Linked DNA regions of Homo sapiens: regions 1 and 3 are each linked to region 2. The links are contacts of gene promoters, found by promoter capture Hi-C in blood cells and fetal thymus (Javierre and others, 2016). All regions are on one chromosome and are shown on one strand. The core of a region is centred on a gene start or on the middle of the fragment in contact, and the rest is flanking DNA. Distances in the headings are between cores, read along the strand shown.

What was found. Contacts are between HindIII fragments. The CHiCAGO score rates a contact against its expected background, and 5 or more counts as called.
Region 1: a fragment that was not itself captured here is called in contact with the fragment with the promoter of WDFY3-AS2 in region 2 in 1 of 17 cell types (naive B cells); the score reaches 6.9 in naive B cells.
Region 3: a contact is called between a fragment that was not itself captured here and the fragment with the promoter of WDFY3-AS2 in region 2, in 12 of 17 cell types (total B cells, total CD4 T cells, megakaryocytes and 9 more). The highest score is 19.9, in total B cells.

What each region holds. Positions count from the first base shown.
Region 1 is chr4:86,055,274-86,059,249 of GRCh38, reverse strand. The region is part of intron 11 of MAPK10 (mitogen-activated protein kinase 10); the gene reads left to right. Among named protein-coding and RNA genes, the nearest start is that of MAPK10-AS1, 63 kb to the left of the region's middle. The HindIII fragment of the contact is 2,245 bases long and covers 1,519-3,763 here.
Region 2 is chr4:84,963,436-84,966,892 of GRCh38, reverse strand. WDFY3-AS2 (WDFY3 antisense RNA 2) reads right to left here and starts at 1,277. Exons shown (of 4, transcript NR_152775.1): 1 at 1,035-1,277. WDFY3 (WD repeat and FYVE domain containing 3) reads left to right here and starts at 203. Exons shown (of 68, transcript NM_014991.6): 1 at 203-684. The HindIII fragment of the contact is 8,814 bases long and covers 1-3,457 here.
Region 3 is chr4:83,641,886-83,645,462 of GRCh38, reverse strand. No RefSeq gene overlaps it. Among named protein-coding and RNA genes, the nearest start is that of GPAT3, 110 kb to the right of the region's middle. The HindIII fragment of the contact is 2,178 bases long and covers 565-2,742 here.

The DNA.
Region 1 (3,976 bases), core at 1,392-3,891, 1.1 Mb before region 2:
TGTGAGCAGAGTTACTATCTGACATTATTTTATCCATCTTCTTGTCTGCCATTATATCTTACTGGATATTACCAAAGAGGATGCATGGAAGGGATGACCAATCATGTGGGAAATATACTTTATTTTTAATCTTCTTGTGACACAAATATGTAAACTTTGATATTGTGTATGCCTATTATGCCTAAAATCTATTCAAGGTAAATCTGAAGTGGGAACTTAGAGATAATTATAGAGTGGTTTTGTCCTGCAGTTCAGCAAACATCAGCATTCAGAGTAGCAACTTTTCAACTTTGAGCAGCTATAGGACCAGCAACCATGATGAAGTGAATGGAATAGAGCTAGATGGGATCAGAAGAAAGAGAGAAGGGAATCAGAAGCCTGTGGTCAAAGTAGAACAGGTTCCAGAGCTTGATCTGGGCATTCCAGAGAGACAGCTGATGCAGATATGTAGGCCAAGCAGTCAAGACCAGCTGGGTAGTCAGGAGAGACATGTGGTCTAAGATCAGAGATCTAAGTAGATGAGACCCTAAGGGGTATTTAAAGGTGTCAGAGATAAGGATGTTCTCATATTGCAATGCAGAAGTCAAAAGCAGACACTCTTGGACCAACACAGAGATAAGCAAAAATGGGAAGCCACTACCAACCTGAGAGCTAGGGGGCGATTTACTGGAGCCCAGGTAGTAATGGCCTGTCCAATGGGAGCTAGAGTCACTAACACAGGTAAGATACAGCTGCTTCTAGAGAAAAGGGTGGGGAGAAATGGCCTAGATTCTCCCCTCTGTCTCCTGGTGATATCTCCCTCCTATTGGCTGAGACCAACCCTAAGGCAACTGACAGACAAATCTGGGAAATATGGCCTAATAGAGTCCAGCCCCCTGAGAAAAAGAGCAACTAAAGAAAGGGGGAGGACAGCATCTGTGGGCAAATGTGTCCAGGGCTGGCACTTACCAGGTCATTCTTTCCTTATTCACAATTCTGAAATCCCTAAGTAAAGGAGAAGTAACCAGGGAACGGAGCACAATTCCTCTGGAGAGGAGAAGACTTTAGATGTTAGAAGAGGTACTCAAGGACCTCCCCTAGTAAAGTGAAGTAAGCATCCCCCTAATAATTATTTAATTTCTTCAAGTATTTCATGATTTCTTGCCAAGACATCGCAAGTACTATACCAACCTGATAGTCTTGGCAGAAGCGTATTTCTCATTGGGGTTTCCACTGAATGTGCACTTCCTTCCTTTTATGTGTTGATGTCACTCTTTCGATTGTTGGTTGTAGGGCTACAGTCTTGTTGAGACAATGTTGGACCACATGTACGTAAGGGGAGTGAAAGGATTCAGCCATCTGTTTTCTTTTAGGTTGCTGTAAATCTACTCTTCTGCTGCCATAGGAAAGACCTCTTTCACTAGGAAAGAACTTTTCACTTTCCTCTCACTCACCTCTTTTTTATTTCTTCCTTTTTTATCTCTTCTTCACTTCTTACCCTTTTCTCTTTTTTATCCAACAGAGTTATTCACATAAGCTTTGACTATTTGTTAACAGTTTAGTATTTATTCACTTATTCTATAAATATTGACTGAACCCACACTTTGTGTTCCACACTGACCTAGATGATAGTGATTCAGCATTGAATTTTTAAACAAAAAATGAAAAAAAAACAGGTCCCTGCTTTTATTGTTCTTGGTAGGTTTCTAATAGTTAATAGCAATTTCTATTGAATGAGAATCTTTGATAACTTATCATCTCCTGAAGAAACAAAATAAACTCCTCCAAATATGAATTATCTACCTTACTTGATTATTTAACTTGTTTGGTGTATGGTTTCCTGACTGTAGAATCTGAAATCCTATGTCCCTTGAAATGTTAATCAGTTATAACTAAACTGCAGTGAGAATCTGCTAATCTTCAACCAGATGTGCATCAACTGCTTTGAATCATAATTAACAAGTTATGCTTATCCACTTTTAGCTATGATTTTTAAACTATTATTTGACTGAATATAAAATAATGTCCTGCTGGGCACAGTGGCTCACACCTGTAATCCCAGCACTTTGGGATGCCAAGGCGGGTGGATCACTTGATATCAGGAGTTTGGGCCTGGCCAACACGGCAAAACCCCATCTCTACTAAAAATACAAAAATTAGCCACCTGTAGTGCCAGGTACTGGGAAGGCTGAGGCAGGAGAATCGCTTGAACCCGGGAGACAGAAGTTGCAGTGAGCCGAGATCGCACCACTGCACTCCAGCCTGGGAGACAGAGTGAGACCGTCTTAAAAAAAATAAATAAAATAAAATAAAATAAAATAAAATAAATAAACAAAAAAGTCCTGACCAAGCTGACTAAGTTTGGTTACCCAAATGCATAGATTATTACTGAAAACCAAAGAATCCTAAAGTTGCTATACTAAACATAAAAGTATACAATCTTTAAACTATAAATTAAATCTTTCTATTTACTATAGCAACTAAATAAAAATATTTAATTTATATTTTAAAGATTCATGTATTAATTTATTGACCATCTGAAGCCTTTGAGCATAGTTCACATGACTGAGGATGATGGGAAGGAGTTATTCTCATTCCTTATTATCACTGACTTTTAATTCTCTCAAATACATTTTTACTGTAAAAGCTAATATCATTTGATTATGAATATCCTGTGTTACTTGCTCTATTAAATCTACTCCATGAATGAGTTCTTGTTTGCATTGTTTCTACCTTTATTAACTGTGGCTTAACCAGTTGTCTTTTACTGAATTCTCTTGAATCCATAATAAATTCCTGAAACAACATGGTGAAGAATAGACTTATAAATATATTTGATTATAACTAGAAGCAATGTACTTTGTTAGACTCAGTATATATGAATTTAGGAATGATAAGGAAAAATATGAGCTACAATGAATATGAATTTGATGCATCTAATGTTCAAATAGTTCATCAGTAGATATCTACTGTTTGGAGATAAACCATTGAATAAAATATGCATAAGTTTGCTTCAAATATTTTATAATCCTTTTATTAAATTGGTTAGTTTGAGTGTAGCACTGTGAGTTAAACCTGAAGTATCTGGAAGACATGATTTAAGTGAGTTATAAATGCAAACAGCTCTCTATACAGACTGTATCTCCCGTTGGGAGGAAAGGGGATTAAAGTCTTTGTGAGTCACATTTTCCTTTGATGAGTGATATCAAAAGGTTAGGGCATGTCCTCAAGACAATTTCTGAATAACTAATCCATCTGAAATTCTGAAACTACAGTTTTTGTTTCCTGATTTTCCCCACAGGGTACAGTAATGTACTTAAAATAGTTAATAGGCATTATTTTTGTTTGCTGTCATTTGATTTGTCTGAGAAGGAAGTCAGTTTGCAAGTGAAGTTTATTATATAAAATTTAATAGCAACTCTCAAGTGGCAGAAAATACCTATCAAATATTTAAATAAGCATAAACTGCAAAACTTGAGTTACTTAAGGATTTTTTTTGGTAGAAATTTGAAAATTTTTATTAAGAAGGAAAAACTTCATTTCACTAAAATAATAAGAAAGCTCTTTTAAAAAAACATTTCATGGGTAGAAAAAGCCTCTGTTGCTTTTTATTAATAGAAAAGATCTGCAGTGCCTATCACACTGAATATGACCTTGGATTTTACTGCTAGTTTATTTCTTGATGCTATATATGTGTGCACAGTTTTAGTAAGTTTCCCCATTTTTACTTGTTTAGATTTTTTTTGAAACATGCTTATTACTTTGGATTTCAACTTGGAAAGCTTATAAATGAAACATACTATTATACTTGATAAAGCACATCAATTGAGTTTTCTCAGGAAAGACCTATTTGGAGGTTTTTATAAAGGGCTTATTCTCAAAAAGATTTCTGAGGTCATTTCTAGCATTTTAGGAATATCAAACAAAAATTTTATCTAAGTTCCCCTAAATATTTTCACAAGTAAGACAAACTACTGTATCCTAGAATGAGGAAAAG
Region 2 (3,457 bases), core at 28-2,527:
GGAGCATCCAGCGGCGCTGTCTGCAGACAGGGGCGAAGGCAGCCGCTGAGAGTGAGGCAAGAGCGGGAAGCCGAGGGAAGGGAAGGAAGTAAGGAAAGAGGAAGGAAAGGCAGGAGGGGGTAGAAGCTGAGCGGCTGCAATTTCTGCGGCCGGCTCAGTAGGAGGAGCAGGAGGGGAAAGAGGAGGATCCAGTCAGTCAGTCAGACAGCCAGCGGGAGGTGGAGAAAGCAGGAGGAGGAGGAGGATTAAAGATGGCCACCAACAGCTGCGGGAAACGGCAACAACCCCTCACTTTCCGGGATGGTCCCTGCGGGTCGGCCCGGCCTTGATGGAGAGAAGAAACCCGAGGAGCGCCGAGGCTGAGGCGGCGGCGGCGGGGACCCAGCGAGGACGAGGACGCGGCGGAGCAGGGACGGGGGCAGGAGAAGGGAAAGGCGGCGGCGTCGCTGCCCCTGCTGCCTAGCACCGCTGCCTGGCCCGGCGGACCGGTTCCCATACCTCGCGGCCGCAGAATCGAGCTCGGGCCCCGGCCCCCGGCCCGCGGCGCGGGGCTCCCGGGCCCCGCCGCGGACGTCGCGCCGGTCGCCCCTTCCCCGTAGCCCGTGCGCCCTCGGCGCGGAGCCCCGGCCCGCCGCGGTCCCGTCTCCTGGGCCTGTCCCGCCCGCGCCCTCCGCCGGCCCTCAGGTGAGTACCCCCGCCATCCTCCCCGCCCCCCGCGCTCCCGGAGAGGCGGTGCTGCCTCGGCCCGGCGCGCCTGGCCGCTTTGTTCGTGCGGGGCGGAGGCGCTGCCCACTCGCGGCCCTGCGCCCGCTCCCCCTAGGGACAGGCCGCGGCCCAGCTGCTGTCCTCCCCAGGGTCCGCCTTGGCCGGGAGCCGCCGCCGCCGCCAGGGTGGGCGGCCTGGCCCTAGTCCTCCGCTGCCTCCTGGGGAGGGCGCCGTCGCGGACGGGTCGGGGTCGGGGTCACGGGCGGCGAGCGGAGCGGAGCGGAACCGGGATATTTCGGGGGATAGGGGAGGAGAGGGCTGGACGTTACCTGTGGGAAGCAGTGGGGGCGTAGGCGGCCCTGGCTCGCAGGGGTAGGGGATCAGGCCCTGGCCCCCCCCCGCTGCATCCTGCGGGGTCTCAGCTCCCGGAGCCACCCGGACCTGAGCGCAGCCGAGCGCGGCCTCCATCCCTCGGGCGCTGTCTCCAGGGCTTCGGGCCTCTCCCCCTACGCCCTACGCTGGAAGCCCTTCGATTATGGAAGGAGCCAGAGATGCTCCAGTTCTCTTGTACTGGGGATGTGGTGGCATCGCAAACATTCACAGTTACGGCGGGATTTAAGAAGCAGATGAGACCTTTCCAACCAAAGGCCATCTGGCTAGTGTTTGAGCCTCAGGTGCAGTTTTTCATTGATTTTTACCATTTAATTGTGAGATCTGCAATATCAGGTCTTCCTTTCACAGAAACAATGTGATACAACCAGATTGAAAGGATATTTACTGCATATGTGAACCCTTGCATGGACTTCCAGTACCTTAAAAATGGTTAAGTGTTTTCTGTTGGAAAATGGTGCTCATGCATACGAAAAACTATTTTTGTTCAGTAATGGTTGCCAACTGGTTTACTATGTAGTTTGAACACCAAACAATTAAAAAGGAAAAACAAAACCCTATTCTTCGGGCTTTTTAAATAGTGGCATATTTCCAGGTTGGTATTTGGTAGCAGGTTGAGAACAACTGGTTTCGACTATCAGGCGACGTAACAAACATAACATAAAACAGAACTAAAAATGTGCTAATTTATAGAAAAACATGTTGTATTAGTGCATAAGTCTAGTAAAAAAATCCGACTTTAAAAAAAATAAAACTTTATCATGAGACTCTTAAGTATAGGAATTAGGTTGGTATGTTTTTATGTTTAAAAATATATATTGCATTAGAATTGAGAACTCTTCCTATGATATTTGAGCAATAGTAAAGTATGTTAATACTTTGAACCATTCTATCTCAAGCTGCTAGAAAGAGGTTTCTACTGCTAGTTTCTTTCCATGAGTTAAAATGGATTCATCTGAAATATATGTATGCTTTTGGTGGGTCACAGTGGGTCATGCCTGTCATTCCAGCACTTTGGGAGGCCAAGGCTGGGGGATCACTTGAGGCCAGGAGTTAGAGACCAGCCTGGGCAACAAAGAGAAAACAATTTTTGTAAAGAAAAAAAAAAATGTTTCAAAAAATTTGTATCACCTCCAAAAAGGAGGGATAAGTTAGAAAATACAATGTTCTACTCTTGCATAATCTGTTTTTGAAAAAGTAAATGACAGTATATTTCAATATTAGTTGGATTCTCTGCTTTGAAGAGATTCTTAAATTCCACTGCTCAACTTTGCAATTTTAAAAGTTTACATCAGTTGTTCTTAATTTATTTATTTATTTCTTTTTTTAGAGACAGGGTCTTGCCCTGTTGCCCAGGCTGGGGTGTAGTGGCACGATCACGGTTCACTGCAGCCTTGAACTTCTGGGCCCGAGTGATCCTTCTCCCACAGCCTCCCAAGAAGTTAGGACTACATGTGCATGCCACCATGCCTGTCTAATTTTTCTATTTTTTGTAGAGATGAGGGTCTCCCTGTGTTGCTCAGGCTGATCTTGAACTCCTGGCCTCAAGTGATCCTCCTGCCTTAGCCTCTCTAAGTGCTGGGATTACAGATGTGAGCCACCATGCCCTGCTTCTTTCTTAATTTCATGCATATACTTCTGAGGGTCCTTGGCTTCCCAGAAATCATATGCAGAATATAGCATATATTTGCTTTTTTCCTAGATAAAGACTCTGTTGGGTGATCACATTCTCAAAAGGATATGGGTCTGTAAAAGATTATGAACTTCTAGATATAAAATTAAAGAATACATATTCCATATTTGGAAAGCTAAAATTTTTAAATTACATTTGATGATTTATGTCCTTCATTTCTGATTATGCCCAAGAAATGTTTGTGATTAAGAGTTCAGCACATAGACGTTGTTTCTAACACATTCTCATTTAAATCGAAGGAAAATATTAATCCCATTTTACAGATGGGGAAATAGAACAAGTTGTTTTAAAGTCATACAAACACTGGTGGGCCAACATGTGAACCCAGACTGTCTGAAGTTAGAGCCAGCATTCATAAACAGGGTATACTAGACTTTGATCGGTAATACCATTTGATTGATGTTAAAATAAGTAATTGATGTTTTAGTTAGAATTGCAAAGTATATCTGAGATTATCATAGCATACAATATCATAAGATTTTAGAGCCCTGGACCCCCAGTATGAAGAGATCTTAATGATACTAACCTCTGTTAATGATGCTAGTCTGAAATCACACCCGAACTAGGGTCATTTCTACAGCATCTTTGGCAGGATCATCCACCTCTGATTTTAGTATTTCCTGTGATTACGAATTTCCCCTCTTCTTTTTTTTTTCTTGACCTTTTTTT
Region 3 (3,577 bases), core at 404-2,903, 1.3 Mb after region 2:
AAGTGTTTATTAGATTCAATTGAAATATTAAGACAGCTCAGCAGTTTGTCAAGTTATAAATGCAGGAGTATGAGAATTACTTTGTGAGCTGTTTTTAAATATAGTAATTTGTGAGCATAATTGTATTTCATATGTGGTAATTCACAAAGTTAAGCCCAGCACTTCCCAGTTCATCTTAAAGCTATCTATTCAAGCAACTCTTGACTCTATAACAAAAACTATCCACTATCCATTATATCTGAATTTTTCTCAGCATATGTGCCCATCCAGAATAGTATTTCAAAACTGGAATTATCCAGGCCACACTGGAGCATATAATCAACTTGGAATTAGCCATTTTTTTCTTTTTTATTATTTCTTCCCCATATTGGCTGCAGTTGTATGAATTACAGATTTTATCTCCCTCAGACTTTTTTGCTTATGGAGTGGGGTGACTGATTTTGGTGCTTTCTCTTTTATTGCCTGTCTGACGTTAAAAATCCTATCAACCGTTCGGAAACTAATCTAATTCATTTCGAGAATAATGTTGTGAACTCTATTTACAGAATCCAAAGCCATAAAGCTTCTAATGCTACGTGAAACAGCACCCCCTACTGGCAATGTTGTCACATTACATCATCATATCCTCAGCACTGAAATCCATCTCTCTCCTGTTGAGAAACTTTGACAAGTAACTTCACAAACAGAACCTATTTAAAATACTTCAAATAGAACAAATCTCTTACTCTGTTTTACCTTCATGGAAACTATTCCTTGATAACAATTTTTGCTAAGAAAGGAAAATATGTGATCTCCCTTTTTCTAGGACCATAAAGTTGTAAAAGGCAAGTTTATTTCAAACTTAACATCAGGTGGGTCCAAACCATGCACTTCATGTCTCTGTGTTTCAGCAGTACAATTCTTTGTATAGCAAATGTACTTTCTTACAAAACACCAAAACTAGCTTTAAAAATAATTGCATATGATTTTTTCACTGTGACCATTTATTCATTCCCGACCACAGCATTCATTCAACAAGTAATTTTTTTTTTTTTTTGAGATGGAGTCTCACTCTGTTGCCCAGGCTGGAGTGCAGTGGTGTGATCTCAGCTCACTGCAACCTCTGCCTCCTGGCTTCAAGCGATTATCTTGCCTCAGCCTCCCAAGTAGATGGGATTACAGACACGTGCCACCACGCCCGACTAAAATATATATATATATATTTTGTATTTTTTGTGGAGACAGGGTTTCACCATGTTGGCCAGGCTGATCTTGAACTCCTGACCTCAAGTGATTTGCCTGCCTCTGCCTCCCAAATTGCTGGGGTTAGAGGCGTGAGCCTCTGCACCCGGCTACATTTAACAAATATTTACTGATCATCTAGGCTTGAGAATACCACAGTGAATAGCATGCATCTGGTCCCTGCCCACATAGAGCTTACAGCTGAGGTGACAGAATAAACCCATCCAATGCTGGATTTGACTAAGGAAACATCTGTGGAATCACAGAGCAAGGGTACTAGCATAGCCAACGGGAATTCAGAGAACCTTATCGCTGGCACTGTGAGTGCCCCAACCATTCCCCAGGACACACTGAAAGTTACTTGGCGCTTCAGTAGATTGTTCTCATCTTATTCTTGGTTTCCCGCATCAAACACCTGCATTTCTCTGGCCGAGGACTTCTGCTAGCGACAAAATGGGCAAGCTAAAAGTACCAGGGAATTAAGCAACCCTCAGCCAGTGAGGGACAGGAGTTGGTGGATAGACACCCTAGCTCCCTTGCCCTTCAATAGATAATTCTGAAGTGTATTCCACTCAGGCTCTTAGAAAGTCCCTGGCCAGGCACAGTGGCTCACACCTGTAATCCCAGCACTTTGGGAGGCCGAGGCGGGCGGATCATGAGGTCAGGAGTTTGAGACCAGTCTGGCCAACACAGTGAACCCTGTCTCTACTAAAAATACAAAAATTAGCAGGGTGTGGTGGTGTGTGCCTGTAATCCCAGCTACTCAAGAGGATGAGACAGGAGAATCACGTGAACCAGGAGGCAGAGGTTGCAGTGAGCTGAGATTGCGCCACTGCACTCCAGCCCAGGTGACAGTGCGAGATTCAGGACAGAAAGGAAGAAGAAAAGAAAAGAAAAGAAAAGAAAAGAGAGAGAAGGAAGGAAGGAAGGAAGGAAGGAAGGAAGGAAGGAAGGAAGGAAGGAAAGGGAAGGAAAGGAAGGAAAGGAAGGAAAGGAAAGGAAGGAAGTCCCCAGTAGAATGTGCACAATTCATTGTTAACAGGACTGCTGGGATTTCAACAGGCTTGGTAAATGACATTCATCTTTCTCACAAATGTTGTGAGGCAATTAAGAAATCCGACCAAAGAATAAGGCAGCTAGGAGAATAGATATCACATTGTTAATATTGAAAAATGAGGCTACGTCTCTAGGCAAGTAGATCACATTGCACTCAAGAATTAAACTGCTGGTCTTTTTAAATTTTTATTTATTTTTTTGAGACCTGGTTATAAGACTGGCTAATTTTTGTATTTTTCGTAGAGATGGAGTTTCACCATGTTGCCGAGGCTGGTCTCAAAATCCTGAGCTCAAGCAATCCATCTCCCTCAGCTTCCCAAAGTGCTTAGATTACAGGCGTGGGCCACCGCACCCAGCCACTGCTTATCTTTTGAATCCCAAGCACCACTGGACTGGGCAAGCCTCTGAAAAACAGGGCCTGCCTGGTGCATTTATGACAAGGATGATCAGAGTGGAATGCAAGCTTCCAGAAGACAGGCTCCTCCCAAGAGAAAAAGGGAAGAGGCTGAGCCATTTGGTCAGTTATTCCTTCCACATTCACCAGTCAGATAAGTGACGTATCTTCCAGAAAGGAGCAAGGAAGGGGCATAAAAACACCAAGGAAGGGACCTAGAGAAGACACTATGTCTGAGCCTAAGAGGAACACACATCATCCAGAAATCCTAGACTAGTGGAGCTCCCTCCACAAGAATAAAACCTCAACAGTGGGAAAAAGGGTCCCCACCACCACACACTCCATCCCATGTCAAAACTTTAAGAGAGTTTTGCTAGTCCAGTGATTCCCTCATACCACCATTCAACATAGTAAATAAAAACAACATCTTTTGTAATTTCCATACTGTCAACACTCTTTCTGAGTGACACTGGTCCCCAATTAAGACAGCAGTAATCAATTATATGAACAAACAATAATCAATTATATGAACAATAATCAAGTCTCTATAGCATTAATAAATGGATTTTAGCCATGTAGTGCCTACTTTTAAAAGGCACTTAAGAAAGGCTTCACTTTTTTCTAATTATTCTTTCAACATGTATATAGCCCTTACTATATGCTAATACGGTGACATATTTATTTAACACTCACAATGACCTTACAAGTTGAGTACTAGTACAAGTTGAGTACCACTACTTAAATGAGAAAACTAAGAAAGCTAAGACTCTTGCTGAAGGTCACAGAGCTAATAAGAGTGAAGCCAGGAGTAAACATTGGTGACTTTTCTTTTTTTTTTTGAGACAGAGTTTCGCTCTTATTGCCCAGGCTAAAGTGCAATGGCGCAATCTCGACTTACCACAACCT